Linked DNA regions of Homo sapiens: regions 1, 3 and 4 are each linked to region 2. The links are contacts of gene promoters, found by promoter capture Hi-C in blood cells and fetal thymus (Javierre and others, 2016). All regions are on one chromosome and are shown on one strand. The core of a region is centred on a gene start or on the middle of the fragment in contact, and the rest is flanking DNA. Distances in the headings are between cores, read along the strand shown. Region 1 has its middle 38 kb from the start of HYAL4. Region 2 holds the start of LMOD2 (leiomodin 2). Region 3 has its middle 36 kb from the start of SPAM1. Region 4 overlaps HYAL4 (hyaluronidase 4).

Region 1 (2,983 bases), core at 119-2,618, 150 kb before region 2:
TCTTTCCACTCAAGGATAGCAAGTCTTATCAGGGAAACACATTCTTATGTACTATGAAATCATCAATCACTAAGTTCATTATGATAAAGCATTGTTAAACCTAGGACCCAGTAAAAAAAATCACATTGGAATTTGCAAGAACTTTTAATCAACAAAGGTTTACATATATACCATAAAGCCTTTTGTAATGTATTATCAGGCATTCCAAGCAAAGATGAGATTTTCTTTTATGGAGGGTCTTGTTTGCACGAAAGCTTGAGCCCTGGCTGGGCAACTATAGTACCTCATGCCTGTAATCACACCACTTTGGGGGGCCGAGGTGGGAGTATTGTTTGAGCCCAAGAAGTTGAGACCATCCTGGGAAACACAGTGGGAGTCTGTCTCTACAAAATAATAATAATAATAATAATAATAATAATAATAATAATTATCCAGCTAAAAATATTAGCTGGATGTGGTGGCATGCACTTGAAGTCTTAGCTACTCAGAAGGCTAAGGCAGGAGGATCACTTGAGTCTGGGAGGTTGAGGCTACCGCGAACTATGATCATGCCACTGCACTCCAGCCTGGGTGACAGAATGAGACCCTGTCTTCAAAAATACATAAAAAATAGGCCAGGCACCTTGAGAGGCTGAGCACCTTGAGAGGCCAAGGCAGGTGGATCACCTAAGTTCAGGAGTTCGAGACCAGCCTAACCAACATGGTGAAAACCTATCTCTACTAAAAATACAAAAATTAGCCAGGCGTGGCAGCACACACCTGTAATCCCAGCTACTCAGGAGGCTGAGGCAGGAAAATTGCTTGAACCTGAAAGGCAGAGGTTGCAGTGAGCTGAGGCAGAGGTTGCACCACTGCCCTCCAGCCTGGGTGACAGAGCGAGACTCTGTCTCAAAAAAAAAAAAAAAAAAAACCATAAAAAGTAAAAGTAAAATTAAGTCAAAAAATTTTTTAAAAGGAAGTTTGAACTCTAATGATGACATCCAGCATTGATCAATTTTTTTCAAACCTGCACATTATTTATGGTTTTAGTTTTCTCAAAGAGATAATAGTAGTAGCTTTTATGAAAAGAAAAAGAAGAGAAATATTGATTAAAGCAGACTTGATACAAAAAAGCATTTTGCTCAAGTTTGCCTGTATTTTAAATTTCTGATGAGAAATTTAAAGCCAGGTCAGTTCAGATTAGATTCTTTTCGAAGAAATAAATGATTCTCTAAAAAGTCTATGAGGTTTATAACTCCTTCAGAAATAAGCAGGGAAATTGCTATATATCACATAAGCTTTAAATCTGGGGAAAAGAAATTGTATGCAGTAATGTAATTTTCCCCCAAAAGGTCCAGGAGCTGGGGTAACTGTAGGACATCTATAAGGATCAACTGAAGGACTTCCTGTGGAATAACTAGGCCAATCCTGTCCCTTCCCATTCCCTAAGTACTAGGAGTACCTGACTGAGTGAAGCTTTTTCACTAGCCTGAAGCCTTGAGCACTGCTTTCTAAAAAGTGGTGTGACCATCTGGAGACAGCTACTAGCCTGGCCACTGAGGTGAAAGGAAGAGAGAGAGACAGAAGGAGTACGAGAGAAATGGAAAGCAAGGGCCGGGCGTGGTGGCTCATGCCTGTAATCTCAGCACTTTGGGAGGCTGGGTTGGATGGATCACCTGAGGTTGGGAGTTTGAGACCAGCCTGACCAACATGGAGAAATCCCATCTCTACTGAAAAAAAAAAAAATACAAAATTACTTGGGCGTGGTGGCGCATGCTTGTAATCCCAGCTACTTAGGAGGCTGAGGCAGGAGAATCGCTTGAACCTGTGAGGCAGAGGTTGCGGTGAGCCAAGATCCCACCATTGCACTCCAGGCTGGACAACAAGAGTGAAACTCCGTCCCAAAAAAAAAAGGAAAGCAAGATTATGGCTACATCAGACTGCCACACTAAGGAGTAATGGAGAAATTGGCAGTATTTCCCAAGAATGAGCTACACTAAATACACTAAAGCCTCCACACGAAAGGAAAACCTTCATTACTTTGGCAAGGTTGGGGCCTCCTTTCTGCCTACCTAAAGCCCACCTATGGAACTTACTTTGGTTTCAGCATCCTCCTTTCCCCTCCATGTTCCAAGGCCAGCTGCTCCCAGTGCAACACTCTCACCTCATCAATAATTTGATTGATCTCTGTATGTACTATTATGCCAGCCTCATCTTGTCTTGATTATTTCAGTTTTGTTGATGAGTCTTGAAATCAGATGGTATAACTCCTTCAACTTTATGTTTCTTTTGCAAAATTGTTTTGGATACTCTAGATCCTTTGCATTTCCATATATATTTTATTTTATTTACTCATTTATTTATTTTTTCGGACGGAGTCTCCCTGTTGTCACCCAAGCTGGAGTACAGTGGCTCAATCTCGCCTCACTGCAATCTCTACCTCCCGGGTTCAAGTGATTCTCCCGCTTCAGCCTCCAAGTAGCTGGGATTACAGGTGCCTGCCACTACGCCCGGCCTATATTTTAAAATAGACCAGTCATTTCTACCAAAAAAGCCTGCTGATTCTTTTACTGCAATTTCTGCCTTTTAACTGGTGTGTTTATGTAATATAATAAATATATTACATAATGTAACAATTAGTACAGTGGATTTTGAGTCTATGATCTTACTTCTTATTTTCATTTTGTATCTTCTCTTTTTTATTAAATATCATGCCTTTCTTGCTCTTTCACTTTATCTACTGCCTCCATCATTCTATTTCTTTTTTATTATGTTGTTAGTAGTTGTTCTGGGACTGATAATATAACTTAAATTATCAATGTCTACCTAGCTTCAGTATTACTGTTATTCACACTTTACATTTCATACCTATCACTTTCCACTTCCCACTTTTCAATTCTCACTTCCCCCTTCACATTTTACACTCCACATTTCAAAAATGTAATAACTTTACAATAATATAATTCCATTTATACCTTCCTTCATTTAAAGACATAAGAATTGG
Region 2 (3,175 bases), core at 196-2,695:
CAGAGTGCAAGGGTTTTAAACTGTTTCTCCTGACCTATGTTCTTCCATAATTCCGGAAGAATTTTTTTTTTGTTATATGGACACTTTATTGTCATTACTGTTTTCCCAGAGAATAATAGTCTTTTGGACTTCCTTCTGGTATTGACTCATTTGGCAAATTCAAAATAACTGTTTACTGGGCAGTACACAAGAGCTTTATAGGCCTGAGCTCTGATATAAGCACATTTCCTAACCTCAGGATCACCATCGTAAAGGAGACAGAAATCGAAGAGATCATCTATACAGCTGTGCTGCCCCTGAGTCCTCAGATGGGTTTCAGGATGTGTTATCATTTTGAAATTCTATGCAAAAGTTGGTGTATTTTGCACAAGCCCAGGGCTATTTTCTTAAGAAGGTTCATAACTTATCAAAATCTCAAAGGGGTTCTTGATTCGCAAAAGAAACACTGTCTCTAACTCCCTCAATGTCCAGAGGGAAAGAGAACCCTGTAAAAGTGATTGTTCAAGGTCTAAAGATGTGGGAACAGAGCAGGGACTCATAACAAGGCCCTGTGACTCTCAGTGTCATGTACTTCCCACCACCCCACACTTCTTGGTATTGGAAAAGAACTATTTCACCATAGCTACTATCACAGTCAAAGCAACCAGCGTTCCCACTTTTGTCTTTATAGGAGAAAATAAATGTACTTAACTGAAAAAAAAGTATACATTTATACGTATGCATGTATCTTGGGAACAAATATTATGCCACATTACCAACATATAGCTCAAACAACACTTATGTTTGGCAAAATATTGAATCCCATACACTGATTGTGAATTATTTTCCTCTTGAGCTTTCTATTTGTAATCAATCAAAGAGCCCCAATTAAGAATTTTACATATTATGATCCATTGGGTGGCCATAGCATTTACATGATTATTTCAGCCTGAAAAATGATTTAGTAGCAAGTATAAATGGGTTATAGGAAAATTCAAGTGATGAGGATTGAGAAGTTAGGGAAAACAAGTGTCTGGGTTTGGGATGGGGTGATGGGGAGGTGGGGTTAGCCAAGGAAAAGTCCCGAGAGCCTACCTTTCCACATTCCCCCAGCCTCTCCTTCTCCAAGAGTTTTTGGGACTCCTTTTCCCAATAGGCCATCAGTGCCTCTCTGCTGAATGTCCCTGTGGGGGTTTTCTCTGTCAGGCTCTTTTGCCTTAGCCCCACGGGAAGGTTGCGGTCAGGTTCAATGTCTTCCAACTCTCTCTCTAGCTCCTTCAGCTCCTCGGCTGACAGGGAGGCGAGGAGTTCATCCTCGTCGATGGATTCGTATTTACTGAGTCCTCTTCGGTAGCCAAAGGTAGACATGGTCCCTGCTTTGTCAGACCCAGAAGGAGCTTGAAGGACCAGGCATTCAAGGCGGCCAGAAGCAGGCAGGGAGGCAAGTGGCAGGCTGGTCAACAACTGGTGCTAGGAGTGGCTGTGGGAGCCTTTTAAGAGTGGTGATACAGGGCTGTGACAATGCAGAGAGGGGTGAAGGCATGGGCTGTTTTAAGCATCAGACGTCAGCTAGACATTTGAACACAAAGAATGTCACATCGGTGGTGGATGGAGGTCTCAGAACCAGTGGGGATTATTAACATACTGGCCAGGGCCATATTTAGCTGAGTCTGATAGCTCATGAGGACAGGCAGAGTGTTTCAGATAAGGAGTAACACAGTTCTTCTCACTTTGTATTCAAACAACAGGGAAATAAAATTTATTTTGAAAATGACTTGCCACCACCTCCATGGCCATGAAAAGATTCTTTCATTATAATCTTAGGGTTGAGAAATGTCTCCACAATACTCCATGGGTAGTTATTTTGGTTCTTCTATAAACATACTGTAGGTGGTATTGATGGGGACAAAAGGTCATAATAATATAGTATTTCATAATTTTATCCTACTTTGCAGTTTACAAAGCACTTCAATAAGTTTTTCTAATCATAAATACTGTGAGATGAATAACATGATTCTCATTTATAGATGTTGGCAACTGAGGCTCTCAGAGATTAAGTGAAACGTCAGAAGTTGGAGAGCTGAAAGTACAGAGAGGTGTCTTTCTCCACTGAACGAAATGCTTCTTCCTACTCACCATGATTACTAGTAAAAATCTAGACTTGCAAATGAAACTCGAAAAATACAAATAATAATACTGGATATGATTTATTAAGGACTGACATTATGCCATTCCAGTGTTAAGCATTATCTCCTTTAATTCTACAGTCCTGTAAGGTGTACATTAGTGCCTGTACTTAACTAGTACACACTCAGAGAGGTTAAGTTACTAGCATGGGAGCACAGAGCTAAGAAGTGAGAGAGCTAGAATCTGAGCCCAGATTTGTATCTGGCCTGAAAATGGAAGAGATGCTAATTTGAAATTATATATATGACTTAATCACTACATATTATATATATACAACAAATTTTCTTATGTACTCCATACATTTGCACAAATTAAAAAAAGAAATTATATATGAGCATATTGTTGTGTATATGTTAAAATAAATCCATAGTTTATAGGACTCCATAAATATAACACCATTTTATAGATATGTAAAATCTATTAAAAATATTAATGCATACAAAAATACATTTATCAATACATGTATAGTACATGATATTCTGATTATACCTTCAGCAGCTGGTGAATATTTGGGTTGTTTCTAGCTTTGGGTTTCTACCTTTTATCTATGAATAAAGTTTCTATGAACATTTACATGCAAGTGTTTGAGTAACCTCAGGTTTTCATTTATTTTGAGTAGATATGTAGGAGCAGAATTACTGGGTTATATGGTAAATTTACTTTTTAAGAAACTGTAAAAAACTGTTTTCCGAAACGGCTGTACCAATTTACATTCCCATCAGCAATGAATGAGAGTTCCGGTTTCTCGACATCCTCACCTATTATTGCTTGTCTTTCTATTATAGTCATTTTAGAGGGTGTCAAATGATAGTTTTAATTTTCATTTCCCTAGTAAGATGTTCATCATTTCATGTGTTTATTGGCCACCTTATATCTTCTTTGGTGAAATATTTATTCAAATCTTACCTCCCCCTTTTTTAAACAACTTTTTGAGACAGGGTCTTGCTCGGTCACCCAGGCTGGAGTGCAGTGGAGTGATCATAGCTCACTGCAGCCTCAATCTCTTGCT
Region 3 (3,150 bases), core at 472-2,971, 230 kb before region 2:
GCTGGAAGGCAGAACATCCAGATCTCCAGAAATCAAGAATCTCACGTTTACACTGAATCCTGGGTCCCCACAAAGAGAAAACACCACAGGACTGGACTGTGTAATGCTTCCACAGTGCACCTCACTGCAAGGACAACTTCATGCCAATCAACACACTCTAATCAGCTCATCCCTCATGGGAGCCTTATAGCTTGATGGCAAGTGTTTCTACAGTCTTCAAGTGTACAACCCTCACTTTTCTCATCTAAATGCACAAAGAAATGAGTAGCCATCTACAGTAATAACCACTCACTGCAACCACTATCAGCCCACCTTCAAAACTGCAGCTTTGCCAGGGACTTGCCAGCCATCACATACCCAAAATTCAAGTGCTCTTACAATACATATTAGCCCCTGCTACGCTCAAAAACCAAAGAGATGCTTAATGTGAGAGACAGCACAGCTTTTAGACCTGAGAGAGACCTGCCCATAATGCTTGGAACTCCATGAGGAAAATAAAAGACCCTGAAAAGGGGATATGTGGTGGCTTTTACTGTGTTCCTCAAGGATCTCAGGGTCACTAAATGTAACATAGATTTATGTAATATAAATGGTAGCAAAAAAAAAGAAGGAGTAGAAATAAATGAGAGAACAAGTCTTAGAGGACCCAATTTGAGACGATGTTAAGCTTTCCAGAAGGCCAATGAAACTTTACATTTTTTCTCAGTAAAAATTACATCAATAAGAAAAGAGATAAACAAGGATCAAACATAATTGAAAAGGGGTTTAGTTGACTGAAAAAAAAAAAGTTCCCAGGAGAGAAACATAATCCAAAAGAGAAAGAGTAGAAAGGCATATCTAGCTAGCTGGCTATCTCCTGAATATCAGCCTTTATTTGTTTGTTTTTTCTGAGACGGAGTTTCATTCTTGTTGCCCAGGCTGGAGTGCAATGGTGCGGTCCCGGCTCACTGCAACCTCCACCTCCCGGGTTCAAGCAGTTCCCCTACCTCAGCCTCCTGAGTAGCTGGGATTACAGGCATGCGCTATCATGCCAGCTAATTTTTTTATATTTTTAGTAGAGACTGGGTTTCACCATGTTGTCCAGGCTCATCTCGAACTCCTGACCTCAGGGGATCCGCCCGCTTCGGCCTCCCAAGTGCTGGGATTACAGATGTGAGCCACCACGCCCGGCCAAATATCAGCTTTTAATTAAGCTGACTTTGACCACACAGCTCTTAAAAACATCTTTTCAAATATCTTATCAGATTTTAGCCAGGAAAAACAGCCAATATTACTAGCTTTTGAACCTTTTTCTTTTAAACCATAGATAACTTTCCAAGTGACTCACCAAAACCAGTAAGTCTTAACCAAGGTTTTGACTTAACCAAGTAACCACAAGATATCTCCAAAGAGGTGCAAAATGATCCTCACAAGATGCAGAACCACCCCAAAGACAGCTAAACAACCAAGGATGTGTGAGGTGTGTCCAAGGAGGTGCAATGCCATTCTCAAAAGATCCAGAACCACCTCCAAAGACAGCTCAAATAAAGAAATGTTTTGCTAGTCACAAAGTGGGTACAAGCCACATTTTTGTCCAGCCATATTCTCTAGGGTCCCAGCTTTTCATCTGATCTACACAAAAAGGCCTGAAAGCCTTATGTGCCTCATAGAGACAGAAGACAGGAAATCAAAAACTATAAACGAAAGGGAAAAGGATTAATAACAAATGGGTACCCCAAAAGTCAAGAGTAACACAAACATCAAATCAATTTTTAAATAAACGTTTCTTCTCCCAAGTTAAAGGACTTACGTTTCCAAGCGACAGATTCCCTGACTGGCAATCAAACCCAGGACATTGTGGTAAAAACATGGCATTTTAACTACAAGATTACAAAATGGAATGTCCTTCATTGCAAACTTTTCAGGGAATTCAAGGAAGCCAGTTTGAGTGTACAAAATATTTTAACTTTGTTTTAAATCCGATTTCTGCTTTGTTTCTCTTTTTTATTAACCTTGCCAAGGGAACTTTTTAGGCCATATTCTTTTTGTATCTTTTCATAGATACCGATAGGATAAGGGTTTAAGACAGAATTCTCTAAAAAGTTAAATATAGACAATTAACTTATTTCATAAGTGAGCTAGTTCTCATACTCCCTTCCCCAAACCCCACCTGTTAACCCAATTTGGGGAGGGAAAAAGACAAATACTCTTACTACCTTTATTTGATCTGGCACCACAGGCAGCTATCTGGGAGAACTTACCTGGTTAAAAAAAAACAAAAACAAATTCTTACCTTTCTTTTCTGGCTTTTTGTCAACTGTCCCAAGATCCCATTCATAGCCCTCAGAATGAACAGAGTGATTTGTTACTAAGTGTACAGTACCAGACTGTAAGGATGAAAGGCAAACTTCCCCTTTGCCCTCTGAAAGTTTACCGAAAATTACCTGACAAAAGGCAGGAGGAGAAAAGGCATACACATTTTATTAACATGCCTAACCTCCAAATGGGGTACAAAAGTTTATTTACCCTTTTCATAGGGGAGAAAGGAAGTGGGAAATGTAGACAATTCTTTTGAGTGGTAGTACATGATAATTAGGGAGAATGAATGAACTAGGGAGACAAATTAATTTCTAAATGATTCTCTTTGGAATTTGAATGGGTCCAAGAGGCAGAAATTATCTTGTGGAAAAGTCCATTCAGTTGTGGTTGCATTCCTCAGTCTTCTTTTCTGCAATAGATAATGAGATTTCAGGGAGAGGATAGAAGGTAATTGTGTTTCTTTTGGTAATAAGCTTTCTTGGTCAGATAAGGAAGTTCCAGTCAAAAATTGTTCCCTGTACTTGGGGTTGGGGGAGGAACAAGACAATGTTAGAAGGATCTTAATTCTGAGGCTTATTTCTGAGGCCTTTTAATTTGCAAAAGCATTCAATATGCCCAAGCACTATATTTTGAGGAACTGTTTTCTGCACCCCAATGGTAGCATGTATTTATGTGTCATTCCTTTTTGTGGCAAACAATATTCCATTGTATGAAGATATTACATTTTATCCATTCATCAGTTGATGAGCATTTGGGTTGTTCTCACCTTTTCATTATTATGAATACTACTTCTATAAACATTTATGTACAAGTTTCTGTATGGACATGTATTTTCATTTACCTTGGGTATAT
Region 4 (3,053 bases), core at 164-2,663, 210 kb before region 2:
TTTGGGAGGCCGAGGAGGGTGGATCACCTGAGGTCAGGAGTTCAAGGCCAGCCTGTCCAACATGGTGAAACCCCGTCTTTACTAAAAGTACAAAAATTAGCTGGGTGGGGGGGGGTGAGCACCTGTAAACCCAGCTACTTGGGAGGCTGAGGCAGGAGAATCGCTTGAACCCAGGAGGTGGGGGGTGCAGTGAGCCGAGATTGCATCATTACACTCCAGCCTAGGTGACAAGAACAAAAAACTCCATCTTGAAGAAAAAAAAAAAACAAAACAAAGATTAAAATACCCACTACTTTCCCTAGAATTTTTTTGTTTAAGTGGCTAGACAATTCTGCTTCCACATGTATGAGCAAACACTCCATTTCAAAACATCCTTTTTGATTGTCTAACCTGCTCACTGCCGATCATTTCAATAACCTTCCAAAATGCCCGATTGTAAGTGAGTACAGTTAAAGTTGGTGTGCAGGAAATGTAGTCGTTGCTGGTATCTACTTTAACCCTTTCTCACCTTACTTTGTTCCTTAAGAGAATAATAATGAGTAAGATAATCAAAATTCAGTTTCCATAAATGAAGAGTCTAAATGCATGACTAGTCAAGGAAGAATTATGCTCCCATATAACAAACCATTAATTGAAATCAATTCTTCAAAGAACATAATTAACAAAGAAATGTCCTTTTAGAGATAAGGAGGAAATCCCCCACCATTGGACAAGAAGCTTCTTACCTTAGAAAGGAAAAATAAAGGTTCATCTCTGTACCCTAGCCTTGTGTAGACAAATACAGGCAGAGCATAATCATGAGATGTCATGGTGGAGATCCTCATGGATTCATGCACCCGAAATTTGGAGAAGCGCAAAATGTTTTCACTGTCTCCAAGGGATTTCCAGACACCGATAGAAGGATATAAAGCAGCACTGCTGTTCCAGAGCCAAGAGAGCTCATTGTTCCTCAAGACTTCGTCTTCTGGGCATGACCCAGAGTAGTTTGGGGCATAAACGTTATAATTGTGGCAATCAGGATATAAATAATAACCCCAAAGGCCTTTGGGTCGGCTCTTAATTCCCAATTTGATGGTTTCCTTCATGAAAGCTTTTGCACTTTCTTCAAAGGTCACTTTGGCTAAATATTCAATATCGGTAGCTGATACATTCTTTCCCATATCGGAAATAAGCTTTCTTGACTTCTGTCTGTAAACATCTTTTGAGTTCCAGTTCCGGGCCCACTGTGGTCGCCAATATTCCCAATCTATAACAGCAAGTCCACTGAAATCTTCAGCAGGGATGTAATAATTAATATCTTGGTCAGCTTTTTCCAGATGTACTTGTAAACTTATGTTCTGTGGGAGACCTCCATTAATGGGGACCCCTTGTGATGTATACCACGGATAGTATCCCAATCTGTTGACATAAAATATAGTGACATTTTGCCCCCTGGCCTTGGCCAGTGGGCTTCCAATCACAGGAAACATTTTCAAATTTAGTCTTAAATTATATTTTATCAAACACTGATCTGTTGGAGCATTCCAAGCAGCTATAAAAGGTTTCCTTTGATAAATTGGAAGTCGAGCAGGTTTTAGACAAGAGATAGACTTTAGAATAAAAAATATAAGGAGCCATGAAGTGAGATGTACTGGTTGAACAACACAAAGCTTTAACTGTCCTTCAGATAATACTTTCATGGTAAGATAAAAATGTTACGTTATCTTCTGCTTTAGTGCACTCTAGAAGACCTGTGGAGAGATTTAATTTTCTGTTAGTCATAGTTTTGAGGAAAAAGACTCAAATAATAAATAGATATTATTATTATATATGACTATTTGTAAAGTGTATCACTTAAAGGTCTCAAAGAGGCCTATAAATAAATTGAGATATAGAAGCATATGTAGAGACCTAGCTTCTATTCAGGGGCAGGAAATGCAATTCAACAAACATTCATGGAGCACCAGACCCCATGTCCAGAAAACAAAATGAATAAGATGTAGTCCTTGCCTTTAAGGAGTTCATGATCAGATAAAGATGTGAAATAATATTTACCATCATTTTGCAAAACTCATCAAATCCCAGGCATTGTGCTTAACTGCTTTGTAAATATTTTTTTTAAACTTGTAATAACTACATAAGGCTTATAATTACATTTCCATTTTACAAATGGGGAAACTGAGGCTTAGAGAGATGAAAAGGCTTGCCTGATGTCACTTTATATGGAAGGCAAGGTGATGTAAAATTTAAATAATAAAAATGCATAACAAGTACTACATGATAATTTATTGGAGCAATTACTTCTTGGAGTAAGCAGTAGGTAGGAATGGAAAGGAAAGTGATTTGAGTGGCAAGAAATTAAAACCAGCCCAACTATCCCAAAGAATAGATGTTTTGGGTTTCTTCTGAATAAACTTAGAAATTGACCCTCCCAGGGTAAAACTTAAGAAAGTTATATTTGTCTTATCTGGGTTCCTTTCTCGGTAAACCAACCATCAAGCCTCCCAGAATGTTTCAAGGAACTGAAACTTACCAGATTATCACATCTAAACAATGAGACACCAGATGCCTCACTCATCATGATTGCCTAACTGACCACTTGCCTGTTGACCAAGTCCTCTTTCTTACCCTTCCTTAATTCCTGTTTTCCCACACATAGTTACTTTTCTTCCCTACTTTATAGACCCCAAATTTTAGTTGCTTGGGGAGATGGATTCCAGACTGATCCTTTATTCTCCTTGGCTGCAGCACCCAAATAAGGCCTTCTTCCCCAGCAATACTCCTTGACTCAGTGATTGGCTTTCTCTGCAGCAAGCAACAGGACCTAGACCAAACCCCTGGTGTAACAGAATGTCTCAGGGAAGACACTGGAGTTAAAAGAGAAGATAGAGCCAGGCAGGGTGGCTCACGCCTATAATCCCAGCACTTTGGTGAGGCCGAGATGGTCACAAGGTCAAGAGATCAAGACCATCCTGGCCAACATGGGGAAACCCCATCTCTACCAAAAATACAAAAATTAGCTTGGCGTGGTGGCACATGCCTGTAGTCCCAGCTACTGAGGAGGCTGAGGCAGG

What was found. The method cuts DNA at HindIII sites, captures the fragments that hold promoters and counts their contacts. A CHiCAGO score of 5 or more calls a contact.
Region 1: a contact is called between a fragment that was not itself captured here and the fragment with the promoter of LMOD2 in region 2, in 1 of 17 cell types (total CD8 T cells). The highest score is 5.0, in total CD8 T cells.
Region 3: a contact is called between a fragment that was not itself captured here and the fragment with the promoter of LMOD2 in region 2, in 4 of 17 cell types (erythroblasts, activated CD4 T cells, naive CD8 T cells and 1 more). The highest score is 6.7, in erythroblasts.
Region 4: a contact is called between a fragment that was not itself captured here and the fragment with the promoter of LMOD2 in region 2, in 15 of 17 cell types (megakaryocytes, fetal thymus, naive CD4 T cells and 12 more). The highest score is 12.2, in megakaryocytes.

Annotation. Positions count from the first base shown.
Region 1 is chr7:123,805,360-123,808,342 of GRCh38, reverse strand. It overlaps a transcript of HYAL4 not described here. Among named protein-coding and RNA genes, the nearest start is that of HYAL4, 38 kb to the left of the region's middle. The HindIII fragment of the contact is 178 bases long and covers 1,280-1,457 here.
Region 2 is chr7:123,654,136-123,657,310 of GRCh38, reverse strand. LMOD2 (leiomodin 2) reads right to left here and starts at 1,445. Exons shown (of 3, transcript NM_207163.3): 1 at 1,075-1,445. The coding sequence starts at 1,347. The HindIII fragment of the contact is 9,966 bases long and covers 1-3,175 here.
Region 3 is chr7:123,887,965-123,891,114 of GRCh38, reverse strand. No RefSeq gene overlaps it. Among named protein-coding and RNA genes, the nearest start is that of SPAM1, 36 kb to the left of the region's middle. The HindIII fragment of the contact is 2,104 bases long and covers 670-2,773 here.
Region 4 is chr7:123,866,900-123,869,952 of GRCh38, reverse strand. HYAL4 (hyaluronidase 4) reads right to left here. Exons shown (of 5, transcript NM_012269.3): 3 at 726-1,730. The coding sequence starts at 1,679. Among named protein-coding and RNA genes, the nearest start is that of HYAL4, 23 kb to the right of the region's middle. The HindIII fragment of the contact is 477 bases long and covers 1,175-1,651 here.